Regions from separate parts of the Homo sapiens genome. Here regions 2, 3 and 4 are each linked to region 1. Evidence: promoter capture Hi-C in 16 types of primary human blood cells and fetal thymus (Javierre and others, 2016). All regions are on one chromosome and are shown on one strand. Each heading gives the region's core, a stretch centred on a gene start or on the middle of the fragment in contact. The rest is flanking DNA. Distances are from core to core; before and after follow the strand shown. Region 1 holds the start of WDR44 (WD repeat domain 44). Region 2 overlaps DOCK11 (dedicator of cytokinesis 11). Region 3 overlaps DOCK11 (dedicator of cytokinesis 11). Region 4 overlaps DOCK11 (dedicator of cytokinesis 11).

Region 1 (3,319 bases), core at 574-3,073:
CAAATGTATTTCCTATGCTCTACACCTAGCTCTAAACTTGTCTCAGATATTGAACTTGAAGGAGATTCGGTGTCATCTCAAGATTGGCCACTGCCACCCCAAAATCCCACAACAGTGACATGAAGGTTGGTGGAAAGACAAACATCTGAAATCTACCAACGTACATTGCTTTCTGATTTTATTACTGTAACTTTTTGGTGCATATTGTGTATAAACATACATTAGTTTTTAGAATGACTTCTAGCATGCATGGCTAACTATACTTGCATCACAGCGGGTTATTACTCCCACGGAGTAAGTGTGAGAATTGAAGGCAGTGAACTTCTCGAACCATATTAGTCCTTTATACTAACATCTACATTTTACCAATCCTCAAGTTCTTACAGCATGAAAATATATTTCACTGCCTCTATTTCCACGTACATTCGTAGGGGAGTTCGGCGAAATCGCTTTAAAGCACTACCCCAACTTTGAAAAGTGGAGAAGTGGGTAAGTAAATACAAGTCCTAGTCAAGCGAGCATTCCAACTACTGTACTTCCTATTCAGAATCACCCATATTAATCACCACTAAAACATCTTGCAGAATTAGATAAAGAACACAAAGCTGGGGCTCTCCTTCCAATCACCAGATTACTCAGCACTTGTTTGTCCCTCTGCAGTCAGTTGTGCACATTTCTTCTGTCTGGCCATCCTTTTAGACCGCATTCTGCCTAATAGGGACCGTGTATTCGATTTCCTTTACCTCACGATAAGGTGTTATTTTAATAAAACACTGTTGATCTAGAGTACATTCGCTAGAGGACTTTCTTAAGCAAATACCCAACCTTCCCCCCGCTCCTTTTCGCTGTGTGCAAGAAAAAGAGGACGGCAAATAGGGGAGAGTTACAGCCACCTCTGAAGTGAATAGGTAAGTTAGCGGTAAACGGGAGAATAAAAAACTACAAGTTACATTTCTCCTGTTACTGCTCCTTTAATCTACGGTCCCCGAGGCCAAAACGGATGTTTGAAAGGTAAGCTCAGAACCCCACAGATACAAATCTCCGACTCAGGCACGTAAGCTGTTCCCCCTCACAGAAGGCTGGATCAGAAGAGAAACGGGCTCCGAGACCGACCCTGGGACCGTTCAGTAGGGAAACGGCCGGGAGGCTGCCCGAGGTGGCTGACTCCCCCTTCTCCGAGTCACCCCGCCCTAAGAAGCCCCAGGTCTGGGTTCTGAAGTCCTCCAGTGAGACGGGGAGGAACAGCGGTGGCGGACACAGCGGGACCTGGGAGGGGTGTAGGGGGAAGACACAGGAGATGCGGGGGGCTTGGGATGCCCGGCTTCCTGTCATAGCTGCAGTCACTTACCCCACGGGGTAGCCGCCCCCTAGGTGCACATCTTCAGGGGCATCATAGAATTCCTCGGTGTCGCTTTCCGACGCCATTTATAGGACACACCCGCGGGTGAGGGGGCCGGCGCCGCCTGGAGGAAGGGTGACTCTTGTCTCCTCCTCGTCGACCTCCACCCGGGCGAGACTGGGGAAGTGGGTCTCGGGCGAGGCTGAGGGAGCAGACGATCTGTAGCGAGGAGACTGTTAAGGAAAGGGGGCCGCCCTCAGTTGCCGGGCTTCGGGAATGACCGGCAAAGCGGCCGCCTGAAGAGGCGGCGGTTGGTCCAGGGAATGTTGCTGCCACCGCTCCCAGTGATAGGTGTATAAGGAGCGCGAAAGAGGCGGTGGCTCCTCGCAGTAAGGGAAGAAGGGCGCGCCGGCTACAGCGGCTCCAGTTTCTCCCGCAGCAGCAATTTACAGCAGCTGGAAGAGCTAGTTGCCCGCAAAATACCGACGCGCACCTACCCTCGCGAGATTTCGGAGGGGCGGTAATACGTGGGCGGGGCGAAGAGGTGGCGGGGGCGGTTCCAGAGAGGCAGCGCTCCGATTACTTCGGCCCGAGAAGCCTATCAAAACGGCGCAAGCGCGTTGAGGGCGTTCGGTGAGGGCCGGAAGTAGCCGAGAAGGGAGGGGGTGAGCCTCCCGAAGGGAGGAGTCTAGGACCTGCGCAGGAGCAGCGTGGTGCCCTGGCTCTGAGAGCGCGCGGCCGACGTAGGTGGGGTCAGGCAGAAAGTCTTACTCCCTAACTCTGCAGTTCCAAAGAGACGCGTTTTGAGAGGGGTGATTTTGAGTCGGTCTTTTACTTGTAAAGAAATACTCTCGGGAAACGTTGGTGTGGACATTTTGGCGTATATTTACGATGTCTTACTATCCAAGCCCGGAATGTCCCACCCTAGGGCGTCGGCAGGTCCACCACCTCTGGCGTTACGAGAATAACTCGCCCTTATTCACTACGAGATCTCTAATTGAGATCCCTAGATATGATCCTGCCGGCCAGAGGGTGGGGTCCTTGAGATATACACGGGGAGTGTGCCAGTTCCATGGTGTAATGATGGATTTATTGCTGGAGCTGAGCCAGTATTAGGCCTCCGGTTACTTTTTCTCCGCACATGTCTGTCGCTGCCAACACAGTGTGAGAGAAGTTCTTACATACTGCCCAAGATGTGCGTCAGCTAAATGGTAAATATTTATTGAGCAGATATCATTGCAAGCCTACGAGCTAATGGCTTAATTCTGATCCTCAACTGCCCAGCGTCCGGTGATAAAAATAGAAAGGTACTTTTTAAAAAACCGAGATGTTCCTTCTTAAACCACGGGTCATTGACCATCAAGGTGATAACATTGACTTTCAGTATGATCACACAGCATATTTATTTCTCCAACTGACATCATGATAGGCATTTTGAGCTGTTCGTGCAGCCTCAATTAGTATTCAAGAAAAGGCTGGATTGGAGCCAGGGGTATGGTCTCAGAGAAACTGGAAAGGGGCTCTAGACTTTGTCAAGCAATCAGGGCAAGGTCTGCTGTGGTCTAGTGGACTTGGGTAAAAACCAAATGTCATATACTGTATATTCTATAATACCCCAGGGAGTTTAGGGAAAACACTGCGTAATCAAATATATTAATATTTTTGCAGCAAGATATATGATTGTTCATACGGGATAAATAAATACAAGTAAATAGCCTCATTCAGTTTGAGTCAGACGCTTCTGCCAAATAAGTTTAAGATAGATCTATTTGACTGTCAAATAAATTACTAAAAAAAAAAAAAAACAGAAACTTGGTTTCCAGAGCTTTTGAAGTTTCAGAATTGGAGACAAGGGATTTGTGGATCCTTGTGAGGGTATGACTTTTGTCAAACCTAAAAATTATTAGGTTTTATGTGTCTTAAACATGTTAATTAACTTCCTAGGTATAAAAATGTAACTCAAAGTACTAACTTTTAAAA
Region 2 (3,319 bases), core at 394-2,893, 210 kb before region 1:
CCACCCCACCCAACCATCTGGGGTTCTTAAAAGTTTATCAATAACCCTGTTAGAAAAAGAGAAGGATTACCTCAATGGCCTTACCTGAACAACATCAATGCAGGCGTCCAAGTAGATGCAACCTTTCGATTCTTTTGAATTTTTCTCATCTTTATAGGAATTGAGAATATATGAACCGTCAGGAAGTTGGGTCAAGTAAAAATATCGTCTCTTGAATACCTACATGGGGAAAACCCAGCAATGATACATTTGTTACATATACATTGCATTTGAATAGTTTCTCTGAACTAAAAACCTCAAAAGCTTGCCAGGCAATTGTGCCTGGACAATCTTCAGACAACCCTGACAAGATGTTAGGAATTATCATTATCTTCATTTTTCTAAGATAGTGAATGAAAATCACATGATTTACCCTCAGTTAATCAAATATCTAGAGAACAATAATTAAGACTTAACACTTTGAAATGTATAAAGCATTCTGATATCTGAATCTCCTGACCCTTTCACTATAGCATTCTTTTCCCATTTAATTGCAAACCATGATTACATCATTTTAATTTGGTTTCTATTACCACGAATCCAAGAATAAACATAAAAAGCATATATATACATATATACATATACCCACATTACATATTTCCATCTCACCTACACATGTACTCATCTACACTGTACCACTGTCTTTGCTTCTGAAAGTCCAATTTACAGGGCACTCACAGGGAAGCACAGAGTCATTAGTTGCCTGCCAGTTGTTGTCGAGTGCCCCAAGTGCTGAGCTTTAAATCAACAGGCCTAATGGAACTATGCCATTTGTTTGGAGTTAGGGATTCACAATAGTTAAGGAGTAGCCTGTTGCTACAACTCACAGCAAAGCCCACAGGAACAGGAAAAGGTTGGGGACTGCCTGATGAGTTCATGCTGTCCCTCTATTCTCCCCTAAAAACAGACTTTGACAGTCTGATAAAAGAGGTGAGAAAAGGGATTAGGAGCTCTCTGATGAATTGATGCTTCTTTCAGTAAGTCACAAACTGCAGGCTATGTCAAGCAATTGTCACAGTGAAAGGCAGAGCTTATTCAAGTTGCAATTTCCCAGGATGACAGATCTGAAGTCACTTCAGGGTGAGATGGGAAGAGCAGCTCCTGGTGATTATTGAGGAAATGCATTCCTATGCATCTTGTCTTATTCGAAGAACCTGGCTTTAAAATTTAAGCTGGTCATTTTTAATTACCCATCTGATTATCCAATATGATCCCTGATCATTTTGAGAACTTTAATTATGGAAAGAGTATTATTTGGCAAGATCGTTCTTGCCAACAACTTAACGTCTGGCAAAGTACCTGAAACATCAATTTATTTCTCCATAGCATGACCAAGCAAAATATATAAAAGCCTTAAGGGACATTTCTTTTTAGAAAAACCAGTAAAAATAAATAACATTGATATTTATTTTTGACTTGTATAAATATCATTGATTTTTTTTAATGAATGACAAAAATATATATCAGTGTAAGGAATACCCTAACAGGTTAGACTGATAAATGCTACAGCTTCTATCTCGGGAAGGGGCCATGTGGGCTACGTGCTATCAACAGAAAAGAGTCCTAGCAGAAAACATCAGCTTGTTTTGCAATGCCAGTCAATTAAATGTTATTGTATTAGTATGCAAAGGAACAGAAAGAGAATGTGTGGGTATATTTATATCTTTCATATATGTACATATCTCATATATGTGAGAATATATACATATATTCTCATATTCAATTAATCTACATTTAAGTTTGCTGGAAGAAATCTAGATTAATATTAAAGGAAAATGTTAATCATAATGGTGATTATATATGCATGTTTGCTTATTTTCTTTATTTTTATTTTTATTTTTAGTAGACACAAGGTCTCCCTATGTTGCCCATGCTGGTCTCGAACTCCTGAGCTCAAGGGATCCTTCTGCCTCAGCCTCCCAAAAGTGAGCCACCCTGCCTGGCCTATTTGCTTATTTTCATGACAATGGTTCACATCTCTCATTAAAATGATGGGAATAGAAGGCTTAAAATTACATGCTGAGGTCATTTCAAATGAATAACATGTAATGAACACTAACTTTGTATAACACATTGCTTTTTAAAGTTATCACAGTAATTATCTATAACAAAACTAGAATACATCTTTCAGGCCAAAAGTAACATGAAAAAAATAATATGAAAAAATTTATATTTGAATTGTTCAAATCTAAAACTGAAATTCTGCTGCTTCAGTGGGACAGCCTACAGAATCCACTTGCAGAGTCAACAGCCAGCAACAAAGAGAGAGGCAGAAGAAGAGAAAATACAGAGCAAAACATTTGTGGCATACAGTCAAATTATAGTCTGAGAAATTTTTTTTTCACATACAGCTGCCTCACCAAGCAAAGAAATTCTGTGGCAGCCACCACTTCCCATATTAGCAAAGTGCATCATTACAATGGACATGGAAAGGGATATGAAATTACAGCAAATCACTTCCTCTAACATTGCAATTATATCTAAATGTGACACTAGGGTAGGTAGCTTATGAATCTGAGGAGAGAATATGATGCCTGAAAGAGCACTCAGAAAGAGCAGTTGCCTGAAAGTCTTATGATACTGATTCTCAGCCAGTATCTCCTGCTAACCAGCAGTGAAATTGTCCTCAAGACTCTGCTTCTCTCAGTTTACTCACTTGTAAAATGATGACATCAGACGAGATGATCTGTAAGATCATATTTTTCCACAATCTACAAATAATTTCATTCAACTTGAACAAATAACACAGCAGCCTTCCTAGCCTGGAAGCTACTCTCCCCATGTGATTTCTCATACACTAGAAACACACAGTTTGGACAGTAAGGAATATTTTTAAAAGTCATCTCTATGTAGAAATCAGACTCTGCCCAACAACAAATTGTAAGGTCTCTTCTCATTCTAATATTTTATGATATATGTTGGGTTTCAACTTCTGAGAAGCTTTTAAGATATCTTTTGCAAAGAAGAAAGGAATATCCTAAATCTCTCTCATGGAAATCAAAGGGAAATCAGAAACATAACTTCCTAGACATTTAAAAAATTTCCACAATGCAGCTACTTAGGGTATAAGTTTATATATATTTTTTACATTTCTAAAAGAAGACAGGTGTTAAAATAACGACTATACAGAATAATGGTAATTACTCTATATCATACCTGTCATTTGAAGGCTGCGAGCCTTTTGTAACCAATAGCTAATTCTTTTAATGCCTCTTGGGGTAAGTATCATTATCCACATTTTACCTAACAGCAAACTGAGGGATCAAGAGCTCATTCAAAT
Region 3 (3,319 bases), core at 343-2,842, 200 kb before region 1:
CCAGAGCTGTTAGTGGTGGCAGAACTTCTCCTTCCCCGGGTCAAAAAGCAACACAGGCCAGGCGTGGTGGCTCAAACCTGTAATCCCAACACTTTGGGAGGCAGAGGCGGGTGGATCACCTGAGGTCAGGAGTTCAAGACCAGCCTGGCCAAAAGGGTGAAACCCCGTCTCTACCAAAAATTAAAAAAAAAAAAAAAATTAACTGGGGGTGATGGCGGGTGCCTGTAAGCCCAGCTACTCAGGAGGCTGAGGCAGAAGAATCACCTGAACCCGGGAGGCAGAGGTTGCAGTGAGCCGAGATCGCGCCACTGCACTCCAGCCTGGGTGACAAGAGCGAAACTCTGTCTCAAAAAAAAAAAAAAAAAAAAAAAAAAAAAAAAGCAACAGTGTAATTCTGGCTCTTGCATTTGTTTGCTGTATGACCTTGGACTGGTCATTTTAGGACTCTGTTTTCTTTTTCTTTTTCTTTTTTTTTCCCAAGGACCAGGCTGTCATATAGGACTCAGTTTTCTCCTCTTTTGGAAAGTGCTCTGAAAACTACAAAAGGCTAAACAAATGTCTTATTCCTCTGCTATTTGTTCCAAAAACATTTCCCATATGACATCCTGTGAGGAATTAGTGCTAGAGATGAGAAAATGGAGAGCTCAAACAGGTTAAGTGACTGAGCCATGGTCATCCAGCTAGTAAGTGGTAGAAATAAGATTTGAGCCCCAACAGTCTGGCTCCTGGGCCAGTGTGCTCATGCCATTCCTTCAATTCAACTGAAAGAGATGCACTTTTTCCAAGGGATGGCTAGGTTCATCAAACTGAACTAATTATCATCAAGCTTTTTCACTGACACTACTGGAAAATGCTCACTACATTATCCATCATCAGCTATATTTTAGTTTATGATCAATACAGGTTCACTAAAGCCAAAAAGTGAGCTCTCATACATTTTGGAATTTCAAAGAGGAAAGTTAAAACCTATTCAATTAACCAAAACACTGCATTTAACCAAACATGCAGGTTCCTTGAAGATTTGCTTTATTACAAATTATAACTGAAAGGTTTCACAAGTGGTGTTTGTTTGTTTTGAGATGGAGTCTCTATCTGTCGCCCAAGCTGGAGTGTGATGGCATGATCTCCGCTCACTGCAACCTCCGCCTCCCGGGTTTACAACATTGTCCTGCCTCACCCTCCCAAGTAGCTGAGACTACAGGCGCCTGCCACCACGCCCGGCTAATTTTTTGTATTTTTAGTAGAGACAGGGTTTCACCGTGTTAGCCAGGATGGTCTCGATCTCCTGACCTTGTGATCTGCCCGCCTCGGCCTCCCAAAGTGCTGGGATTACAGGCGTGAGCCACTGCACCCGGCCTCACAAGTGGTTTTAACAAGGTAAAAAAGCTTAATAATTCTCCTGTTGCATGTTTCCCTGGAATGCTAAACTTACCATGGCAACATTCGAAAGTCCCCAGAGAAGTCCTCATACTTGTAGTTTACCACGTGCCAATCTGTGCTATAGGTTTTAATACACTGAAAGAAAATAGGAATCTTGAATTTGAAATATAGGAAAAGTACATATATATCCACTTTTTAAAACTCTGGTACTATGCCGACAGGCTTTCTAAAACCATTTGGCAATTACTAGTACTGGGATCTTCCTTTATGGGTTAACTGTGTCTCTCTTACCCAGTTGGTGGCAATAAATCCCAATTCATATGCCCTTTGAATACTCTGACTCTCAGTGCAAAGAGTATTCAAATCCAAAAGGAAAACACTAAGGTCATATGCACCTTGTGGAAATGTTTAAGCTTTATCATCATATAGACTTGTTAACAGCATATAAACTTGTTATTTAGGACAGTTAATGTTAGTTATTTTATTTTACCTTTACATTAAAGGAAGACTACTTTAAATATTTTACATTTATGTATTTATAAACAGGTTACAAATACATAAAGACATATAAATACTGTATATATTTTAAATATATGAAGAATATTCTTCTGTGGCCTTTGAGCCTCTTACCTCTTTAACAAATAAACTCTGGGCCCTCTTTTCAGCATCTTCTGGTACAGTAGACTGCACCGTTCTGCGTTGACGACCTATCACCGAGATCTAGAACACAAAGAACATTTTTGCTGTAAGAACTGGCTTGAAAAATAGGGGTTTTTTTCTTTAAAGAAGTGTTTGTGAACTCACAGATATATCTTCCATTGGGAACATAAGCAGATCTCGGAGGGGGTCGCTGTAAATCTGGGTTTTTCTTTGGGCAATAACATTCTCATAGTCCAGGGGCTCAACAACTTTGGCCTTTTCCTTTATAAGAGACAAAAGTAAAGTTATTATGATCAAACTCACAAGAGTTAAATAACTTTCTATGTACTAAAGATACATTACTTCTCAAAGGAAGGGATTACTGATACTTTTAAGTACTTAATTGAGACAGTTTCACAAGAGAAATAGTCTTCATAGCTAGACACACACCACAAACACATACACACACACACACACACACACACAAACACACACACACACACACAGACATTCTCTTGCTAAAGATAAAGAGTTCTGGCTGGGCATGGTGGCTCATGCCTGTAATCCCAGTACTTTGGGAGGCTGAGGAAGGTGGATGACTTGAGCCCAGGAATTAGAGATCAGCCTGGGCAACATGAGAAAACCCCATCTCAACAAAAAGTACAAAAATTAGCTGGGTGTGATAGCCCATGCCTGTAGTCCCAGCCACTCGGGAGGCTGAGGCAGGAGGATCACTTGAGCCTGGGAGGTTGAGGTTGTAGTGATCCGTGATTGTGCCACTTATATCTGGGCAACAGAGCAAGATCCTGTCTCTCCAAAAAAAAAAAAAAAGTTCTGGAGAAATAGAACTGTGTTATTCTACTTAATCTGTGTGCCTTCTAAAAATTATTGAATTTTAAGTAAAACAAAAAGTGGCATACTTGGAAGTGTGCCTGTTGGTATTTACTGCATCTGTACTACTCTCTGGGCAACGTTGGAGGAGAAAGTATCAACATTCATGTTCCTACTCTGTACCAGGGACACTGTCCCATGGGCATACTAAGTTCCAGCATATCCAGGGCAGGCATAGATACTAGAGATGCTTGATCCCTTGGGCAGGTTATGAAAGGGTTAGGTTCAAGGTGACAAAGTCAGTGGATCCCTGCTGGACTTCTAGGCGAGCTGGCCATTGACAGTAGGACCCAGACTGAAGCTAAAGTAACAAGAAGCAGGGTCAGTGATGCTAAGAAAGCCAGGATGTAACATAATAAGAGTAGTGGTAACAGTTCACATTTACTGAGCCCTTTCTATATGCCAGGCA
Region 4 (3,319 bases), core at 207-2,706, 180 kb before region 1:
TTAACTATTTTAAAGTATATACTTCGTTAAGTATATACTATATAAGTGTCTGCATTTGGCATTAACTATATTCACATTACTCTGCAATCATCATCATTACCCATTTCCAAACTTCCTCATCATCCCAAAGAGAAACTCTGTACGCATTCAACTCTGCACTTCCTCCACACCGCCCCCGCCCATCCCTGGTAACCTTTATTCTATTTTCTGTCTCTATGTACTTGCCTATTCTAGGTACCTCATATATGTGGAATCATATAAAATTTGTCTTTCTGTGACTGGCTTCTTTCACTTAGTATAATGTCCTCAAGCTTCATGCATATTGTAGCATGTGTCATAATTTCCTTCCTTTTTAAGGCTGAATAATATTCCATTGGTCATCTGCTGAGGGACACTGGGCTGTTTCCACCTTTTGACAATTGTGAACAATGCTGCTATGAACAGTGGTGTGAAACAAGTATCTGAGTCCCTTCCTTCAATTCTTTTGGGGAGAATTTCCCAATTCCACCTAATAGAATTGCTGGGTTATATGGTAATACTTTTTTTTTTTTTTGAGACAGAGTCTCGCTCTGTCACCCAGACTGGAGTGCAGTGGCGCTATTTTGGCTCACTGCAACCTCCGCCTCCTGGGTTCAAGTGATTCTCCTGCCTCAGCCTCCTGAGTAGCTGAGATTACAGGCACACGCCACCACGCCCAGCTAATTTTCATATTTTTTAGTAGAGATGGGGTTTTACCATGTTGGCCAGGCTTGTCTCAAACTCCTGACCTCATGTGATCTGCCTGCCTCTCCCAAAATGCTGGCATTACAGGTGTGAGCCACCTCTCCCAGTCTATTATATGGTAATTCTATATTTAACTTTCTGAGGAACCACTTAACTGTTTTCCATAGTGGTTGTACCATTTTACATTACCCACCAGCAATGCACAAGGGTTCCAGGTCCGCCCCGCCCGTGTTCCTCAACACTTATTTTCCAGTTTTTTGAATAACAACCATCAGAACAGGTGTGAGGTGGTATCTCGTTGTGGTTTTCATTTGTATTTCCCTGATGACTAATGGTTTTGAGTATCTTTTCCCGTGCTTATTGGCCATTTGTTTATCATCTTCAAAGAAATGTCTATTTAAGTCCTTTGCCTGACTTAAATCAAGTTTGTTGTTGTTGTTGCATTATAGGAGTTCTTTATCTATTCTGGACATTAATCTCTTATCAGATATATGCTTTACAAATACTTTTGCCCATTCTGTGGGTTGCCTTTTTACTCTCCTGTTAGTGTCCTCTGATTTGAGAAAAAAATCAGAGGACACCGACAAATAAAGTTAATGTAATCAACTTTATTTTTTAAAGAAGGTATGGGTTGAATTTTTAGGGAGCAAACAGACAGCCTGAAATATGGATGGAGAAGGTACGCCTAATACCTCCTTTTTACCCTTCTGTGGGTGAAGGAACAAGAACTGAGGTATTCTCAATGAGGTCACAAACTCATCAATCGTCCCCCAACTTGGCTCCTTTTTAGGCAGCTAATGCGGTGGGGCACTTGTGTACTAATGACAGTCACAGAAAGGAAACTCATCTGGGTGTGGTAGTGAGCCCAGCAAGGGCAAACAGGCAGGGTGGGGAGGACATAGATCTTACAGGCTTATACGATTCCTCAGCCCTACCAGCTCTCTGTTTCTGGCTGGTTCTTAACTACACACTCAAACTTCCAAACTTCTCACATAGAAGACAAACATGCAGATTTGTCACTACTGAATGGAGAGGAATGCTTGAGTAATTATTGTGAAAAGTGACACCCAAGTTCAGTTCCATCTCGGAGGATCAAACTCCCCTTCTTGTCTCTCTGCCCCTTATTTCCTTTCTCTTCAGTCCCCCCTGCAAAATGGGCCTTCGAACCAACTATTTGTCACATGGGAGTTTGTTTTCTAAGTATTATTGAGTATGATCAATTTACACAGGCAATGAGAAAAAGCAATACATATTCATTTTCTTCTAGGAATAGCCCCGGAACTATACTCAAATCCTCTAGAAATGGCTGTGTCTCAGTAGCTTATGTGAATAAACTCAGTCCAAATTTCAGGACTATCGTGAGGCTGAACTGTTGAATATCCTTACTAAACGTGAGAAACACAGTGCACAGTGCAGGTCCTGTAAACTGAAATTTCTCGCTCTACAAAGTACTGATTTGTTTTTGAAAGGTATTGACAATTACAGATCACCAACCTACCAAACTGTCTTTTCATAAGCAGAGTAAATAACCTAAAATCTTCTTACCTAGGAAGCACACCTAAAACCCCATGAACTGCCTGCTGCACATGCATTCATTTAACCAAGAATCCAATGAGAAGGATATTTCTAGAAAGGTCTCCACCTAGACATACAAATGGCTTAGAAATTTCAATGTTAAACAACCTTTATGCTCAGTAAGTTCTTTTTTGTATTTAATTCAAATCCTAAGGGCAAAAACTCAACTTCTTTAGCATGTGACCATATGTCCTACCCTCAAAGCCATTTCATTATGAGGGTGGGGAAATGAAAGAAAATGTAGGACAGGAGGAAGAAATGTAACTCTTCTCTATTATGCTTCTAACATTTATTGAAAGCTTGCTAAGCACCAGGTACTATGCGAAATGCATTACATGCGTTACCTCATTTAATTTTAGCAATGACTGTATGAGGTAGAGAATACTATCACTACTCACATTTTATCAATGGGAAAACAGATTAAGAGAGGTCAGAAACTTGCCCAAGTGAGCAAATAGAGTCAGCGTAGTACGCCAAATTCTGAGATGCCCCTAGAATTCTTGCCTCCTGGTCTACTCACCCTGTTTAATTCTCCTCTTGAATGTAAGCGGGACCTGTGAATATTGAGAGATATCCCTACCCTGATTAGGTCAGGAATCAACTGACTGTGAGTTAATCAAAACAGAGAGGATTCCAGGTGGGCCCGACCTAATCAAGTGATCTCTAGAAGAGGAACTGGGCCCATCCTGAAGAGAGAGATACACCTGCTGGATTTAAAGAAGTAAACTGCCATATGATGAGAGGCCTATCTGTCCAGGACCTGAGGATGTCCTCTAGGAGGTGACAGCAACCCCCAGCTGAATGGGACCATTTCAACTACTTCAAGGAACCAAATTGTGCTATCTTGAATGAGCTTGGAAAAGCTCTGAGCTTCTGGATAAGAATGCAGTCCTGCCAACACCTGTAAAACCCTGAGCAGAGAATCCAGCTGAGCCATGCCTACACTTCTGACTGTGAAATAATAAGTGTGTTATTTTAAGCTGCTAAGTATGTGGTAATTTGCTATGCAGCAACAGAAAAC

What was found. Contacts are between HindIII fragments. The CHiCAGO score rates a contact against its expected background, and 5 or more counts as called.
Region 2: a fragment that was not itself captured here is called in contact with the fragment with the promoter of WDR44 in region 1 in 1 of 17 cell types (activated CD4 T cells); the score reaches 5.5 in activated CD4 T cells.
Region 3: a contact is called between a fragment that was not itself captured here and the fragment with the promoter of WDR44 in region 1, in 1 of 17 cell types (activated CD4 T cells). The highest score is 5.0, in activated CD4 T cells.
Region 4: a contact is called between a fragment that was not itself captured here and the fragment with the promoter of WDR44 in region 1, in 1 of 17 cell types (activated CD4 T cells). The highest score is 5.5, in activated CD4 T cells.

What each region holds. Positions count from the first base shown.
Region 1 is chrX:118,344,610-118,347,928 of GRCh38, reverse strand. It overlaps WDR44 (WD repeat domain 44), which reads right to left and starts at 1,823. Exons shown (of 20, transcript NM_019045.5): 1 at 1,349-1,823. The coding sequence starts at 1,425. RefSeq lists enhancers at 1,148-1,691, 2,233-2,282, 2,473-2,592. The HindIII fragment of the contact is 5,332 bases long and covers 1-3,319 here.
Region 2 is chrX:118,558,283-118,561,601 of GRCh38, reverse strand. DOCK11 (dedicator of cytokinesis 11) reads right to left here. Exons shown (of 53, transcript NM_144658.4): 7 at 85-219. Among named protein-coding and RNA genes, the nearest start is that of DOCK11, 64 kb to the right of the region's middle. The HindIII fragment of the contact is 2,676 bases long and covers 306-2,981 here.
Region 3 is chrX:118,541,707-118,545,025 of GRCh38, reverse strand. It overlaps DOCK11 (dedicator of cytokinesis 11), which reads right to left. Exons shown (of 53, transcript NM_144658.4): 2 at 2,185-2,301; 3 at 2,011-2,100; 4 at 1,433-1,515. Among named protein-coding and RNA genes, the nearest start is that of DOCK11, 48 kb to the right of the region's middle. The HindIII fragment of the contact is 407 bases long and covers 1,389-1,795 here.
Region 4 is chrX:118,522,379-118,525,697 of GRCh38, reverse strand. All of the region lies in intron 1 of DOCK11 (dedicator of cytokinesis 11), which reads right to left. Among named protein-coding and RNA genes, the nearest start is that of DOCK11, 28 kb to the right of the region's middle. RefSeq lists an enhancer at 1,459-1,518. The HindIII fragment of the contact is 2,286 bases long and covers 314-2,599 here.